2 separate regions of the Homo sapiens genome follow, and region 1 is linked to region 2. The links are contacts of gene promoters, found by promoter capture Hi-C in blood cells and fetal thymus (Javierre and others, 2016). All regions are on one chromosome and are shown on one strand. The core of a region is centred on a gene start or on the middle of the fragment in contact, and the rest is flanking DNA. Distances in the headings are between cores, read along the strand shown.

Region 1 (2,757 bases), core at 226-2,725, 460 kb after region 2:
CAAAGTGGCCATGTTTACAGAATGCCAAAGCCATGTTCTTAGAGGTCATGAGAGAGAGTGTGTGTGTATGTGTGTGTGTGTGTGGTGTGTGATGTGTGTGTGGTGTGTGGTGTGTGATGTGTGTGGTGTTTATGTGTATGTAGTATGTGTGTATGTGGTGTGTGTGGTGTGTGGTATGCATGTGGTGTGGTGTATATGTGTGTGTGGTGTGTATGTGTGTGTGAGATCTGTGTGTATTGTGTGTGTGGTGTGTATATGCGTGTGGTGTGTGTGGTGTGTGGTACATGGGTGGTTGTGGGTATATATGTGTATGGTGTGTGTGTAGTGTGTATGTGTGTGGTGCGTGTGGAATATGTGTGGCATGTGTGGTGTGGGGTGTGTGTGTGGTGTCTGTGTGTATGTGTATGTGTGTGTGGTGTGTGTGGTGAGTGTGTGTGTGATGTATCTATGGTGTGTATGGTGAGTATGTGTGTGGTGTGTGTGGTGTTTGTGTATGTGTGTGATGTGTTTGGAGTGTGTGTGTGGTGTTTGCGTGTGTCTGTGATGTATATGTGGTGTGTGCGTGATGTGTGTGTGGCGTGTATGTGTGTATGTGTATGGTCTGTGTGGTGTTTGTGTGTGTATATGTGTGTGATGTGTGTGTGCTGTGTGTCTCTGATGTGTGTGGTGTGTGTGTGGTGTGTGTGCGTGTACGTGCGCGTGTATGTGTGGTGTGTGTGGTGTGTATGTGTGTGATGTTTGTGTAGTGTGTGATGTGTATGAGTGTGTGTGTGGTGTGTGGTATGTTTGGGTGGGTGTGTATATGTGTTGGAGAGGGTGTGGGGGGTTTGGGGGGGTGTGTGACTAATATGTGTGGAGGGGGTGTTGGGGGTGTGGTGGGTATATGTGTAGGTGTGTGGTATGTGTGTGTGTATGTAGTATGTGTGTATGTGGATGTGCCTGTGAGCTATGTGTGAATGTGTATATAGGAGTCTTTTAGTGTGTGTGTATCGATCGGTGGGCATGCGCCTGTGTGTGAATCTGGGAGTGTGAGGTGTGAGTGGGGCGCGTGGCGTTTGGGGTAGTGTGTGATGTGTATGGTGTGTGGTGTTTGTGTGTGTGTACGTGTGTGCTGTGTGTGGTGTGTGTGTGGTGTTTCTGTGTGTGTATGTGTGTGATGTGTGTGGGGTGTGTGTGGTGTTTGTGTGTGTACGTGTGTGGTGTGTGTGTGGTGTTTGTGTGTATGTGTGTGATGGTGTGTGTGGTGTGTGTGGTGTTTGTGTGTGTGTATGTGTGTGTGTGGTTGTGTGTGGTGTTTGTGTGTATGTGTGTGCTGTGTGTGTGGTCAGTAAGGTTCTGCATGGTCTTTTCACCGCCCCCGCAGCAGGGCATCCGCCACGTCAACGCTGGAGCCAAAGCCCCCACCCAGGTTACAGGTGTAGCCACCGCTGTAGCCTCCCCCAAGTCCCACCAAGAAGCAGGAGGAGGTGACCGACATGTTGCCACAGCTGCTGACTCCCAGGAGGCTGGCGAAAGGCACCCCCAACACTGACAGATGACATCCAGGAGAAACCCCCGCCAGGTGTCCACAGGCCCTTGACAGAGCCAGAGGTGGAGAACTGGCAGATGCTGGTAGTGGTGACAACCAGGGTGTCCATGGGTCGGGTGAAGAGTCTGGTCTGGATGGAGACCCTGGGTAGCCCGTTACAGCCGGGCTGAAGTGGGGCTGGGACCCTGGCCCTTGAAGTTCAGGCCAAAACCCCAGGAGTGTATTTTGCCTCCTCCCACCCACCCAGGGCCTGGGGCTCAGGCTGGACATATTGAGAGCCTCCCCAAGGACCCCTCCATAGCAAGAGCCCAGCCTGAGCACCAGGGCCTCAGCGGTCTGTTCAGACACAAAGGTGGTGGCCAGGCACGGTGGCTCACGCCTGTAATCCCAGCACTTTGAGAGGCAGAGGCAGGTGAACCACCTGAGGTCAGGAGTTTGAGACCAGACTGGCCAACATAGCAAAACCCCATCTCTACTAAAAATACAAAAATTAGCTGGGCGTGGTGTCACGAACCTGTAATCCCAGCTACTCAGGAGGCTGAGGCAGGAGAATAGCTTGAACCTGGGAGGTGGAGGTTGCAGTGAGCCGAGATCACACCATTGCACTCCAGCCTGGGCAACAAGAGTAAAAATCTGTCTCAAAAAAGAAAGAAAGAAACAAAGGTGGTGCTGGTCTGTAGCCCTGGGGTAGGGTGACCCTCCATCCTCAGCCACAGTTAGGAGGCTGAGCTTATTCTTGTGGGGAGCCCGGAGAACCCAGCCCTGGGAGCCAGCACGGGCACAGGACAAGGCTGCACAGGCCAGGAGCCGGAGGCTGGCCTGGCCCCTCACCCAGCATTCCAGGGCCCTGGGGTAAGGGTGGAGAGATCGGGGCCTGACATCATTGCCCAGGTACAACGTGGCCCTGGTGGAGACTCCCAGTCAGAGGAGGCAGAATTAGCCTCTGACCTGTGGGAGCCCCACTCTCTTGGGATTCTTCCAAGTCCGCGGGGAGATACAGCCCACAGGTTCAAGGATCCCTGTGTCTGAGGGAAATAGACGTGGCCGCTGAACTGAGGGAGCTTTGGATCCAAGCCTTTCAGGAAGTCAGTTCTAGAGCCTCCGTTCCCTCGTTTGTAAAAGGGGGACCAAGTCTTGTCTCCCAAAGTCTTTGAGGGAATCTGGAGAGATAATGACGTCAGTAAGGCTCTAACAAAACAGGAAGCAGAGGTGGGGCTGGGAGCAGGGGT
Region 2 (2,700 bases), core at 175-2,674:
TCAGAGGTGTCCATTCAGGTGACAGTAAACTCAAGAGTTGATCAAAATCTATGGTAACCATTCATATTGTACAAAAACATTTTGAAGGACACTAATACTGAGATTAGGAATGCTGCTGTTTTAGATTGTGTGCTCTCTGGGGCAAACCCACAAAAGAGGATCTGAGAACATGTGGTATATTTGGACGATTAACCCAAGAAACACTGGAGGAAACTTGAAGAATGACCCTGGGAAGGAGGGAAAGTCATTATAGAGTGAGTTCATGATCAGAATGTTCCTGCAGGCATCTGGTATAAATCCCGCTGAAGACCTCTGGAAGACTGGTTTGACATACCCCCCACTGGAGGGAAACAAGCCAGGGCATATATTACCAACTCCCACTCATTCTCTGAGTGCTGTTCCTAGAGGCTTTAAGTCTCCAGCCCAGAGTTTGCTCCTTTATCCAGAGAAAGTCCTCAGGTAGAGAGTTCCAGGTGCCTGCTCTAAGGAACCATTTTCCTATGTTTGAATGGAGAGTGCTGATAGGATAGAGGTGGAGCCCCTGATATCATCTGCTGTGGTCTTCTCCCTCTGCAGGGAAGAACATCAGAAAATTTGACAGGTAAGGATGAGAATTCAAGAAGGAAAAATGAGACACAATGCCCGTATATTATTTGTATGCCTCAAAAATTAAAATTTATTTAAGATAGAGGAATAGCTCCATGTGATAAATTATGGTAGAGAGCAAATATTTCAATTCAGGGAACATGGGGTTGACATATTTCAGAGAAAATTCAAACTTGTATTCATTTGGTAGAGGGTAGCAACATAGTGTTTGGTGAGCATATTTGGAGGCCAAACTCAATCCAAGAATTGGTTGGAACTGAGGTTGTCCAATTGGCCTTGCATGATTCAGTTCACAGGTGGATCATATCAAGAATGCTGGTTAATAAAGGCAGGTGAGTATAGGTGAGGGCATCAGCAGCAAGAGCCACTAGAGCAGGTTGGGCGGCAGCAGGTGGACACACAGCAGCTGGGGCGGTAGCAGGTGGTCCTGCAGCAGGTGGTCTGGCCACAGCTGGGGCGGCAGCAGGTGGGCTGGCAGTACACAGACTGGCAGCACTGGGGTCTGAAGCAGCTGGACACACAGCAGCTGGGACGGCAGCAGGTGGTCCTGCAGCAAGTGGTCTGGCAGCAGCTGGGGCTGCAGCAGGTGGGCTGGCAGCACACAGACTGGCAGCACTGCGGTCTGCAGCAGCTGGACACACAGCAGCTGGGGCGGCAGCAGGTGGTCCTGCAGCAGGTGGTCTGGCAGCAGCTGGGACGGCAGCAGTTCTCTAGGCCACAGCCCTGGTCAGAGCACACAGAGCCACAACAGGAGTTGACCATGGTGTCAGAGGGTGGAGGTTCTGGGTGGATTTCCAGGAAGGTGGGTTTGGAAGGTTTGGAAGTTTCCTTGCCCCAGATCCTCTTTTATACCCTGCTAAGGCCTGATGTCATCAGATGCAACACTCTTTCCTTGTTATTATTTGTCCTGATATGTAGGCAATTATCAAATTAGGCAAGTTTGTTGTTCTGGTTAACTTATCCACATAGATGGAAACACTGTCTCCTTTCCCTAATGTGTTAGGACTCCTTAGCTCAGCTCTTCCTGAACCACCTCCTGTGTCTCTCTTACTATAGCTTCCTCCTAGAGCAGCCATGTGACATCTGCCTGTAAGCACATACTATGTGCTTCAGTCTCATTTGCTTAACACATCATGACTACTCTTGGGTGATTACTATTCTTACAGGCCCTTGACTCTTTCTGGTGACTCAGGAGGATAAAGCTGCATTTCAGTCTGATGGCTCCTTCATTATGGGTCAGATGGCCTGTGAAGGTTTCAGTGTGAAACAGATTTCAGTGTGAAACAGATGACCACTGGTGTGAGAACGAGAACACCGTAGGACCTATCGCTTTTTTATCTTCCGCACTCTGAATTGTGACCCATTTTCTAGACCTTCTGATGAGAAATACAGAGCTGTTTTAAGGTGGAAAACTAAGCTGTGAAAGTTTGATGTTTCCTTTTCTACAGAAACAACCCTCCAAAATTCAGATTCAGGGCCTCTTGGGGAATGTTGGCTTCAGAGAACAGCTATACTTAAAGGTCCAAGTCCCTCATTTTTTTGCTCCCTGGGGCAGATTTTCCTTGTGACTTTGCCTTTCTGCCTTCCTAGCTCTAACAGGGCACATGAGCTCATCTCTCCAGGTTCCAAAATTTTCTGGCCAACCCAAATTAGATGACTCAGTATCCTTTGCTTGCTCTAATTCGCTCCCAGCCCTCTTGCTTTCTCTGCTGAATTGCTGGGCCTTGAAGATGTCCTATACTCTGCTGCTTCCTTATAGAAGTTGTTGATCCAATTTCACACTTTACATCTTTGTTTTCAAAAAATAAATCAATAAAGAGAGAAAGAAAGCAGAAAACAGGTATCAAGAACAAAGGATATCAGCCTATATTTTTTCATGTAGGGATGGCTGACTATTGTTTCAAAAATGTGCTATGTTGTCAATTCATTAACTCATCAGTTAATAAATATATATGTATTTCCCCACCCCTGAGGAGTCAAGGAACCCAGGGAAGGGGGTGGAAAAATGTCTGACTTACCATGATAGAAATGTTTTATGAACTGGGCAGCCTCTGCAGATAATCAGGGGAGGAGTTTCAGTGTAAGCTGGTGTTT

Evidence for each region. Contacts are between HindIII fragments. The CHiCAGO score rates a contact against its expected background, and 5 or more counts as called.
Region 1: a fragment that was not itself captured here is called in contact with the fragment with the promoter of KRTAP4-2 in region 2 in 1 of 17 cell types (total CD4 T cells); the score reaches 5.5 in total CD4 T cells.

The regions. Positions count from the first base shown.
Region 1 is chr17:41,632,494-41,635,250 of GRCh38, forward strand. It overlaps the pseudogene KRT42P. Among named protein-coding and RNA genes, the nearest start is that of KRT17, 9.3 kb to the left of the region's middle. The HindIII fragment of the contact is 4,882 bases long and covers 1-2,757 here.
Region 2 is chr17:41,176,797-41,179,496 of GRCh38, forward strand. It overlaps KRTAP4-2 (keratin associated protein 4-2), which reads right to left and starts at 1,425. Exons shown (of 1, transcript NM_033062.4): 1 at 650-1,425. The coding sequence starts at 1,368. The coding sequence ends at 958. The HindIII fragment of the contact is 17,641 bases long and covers 1-2,700 here.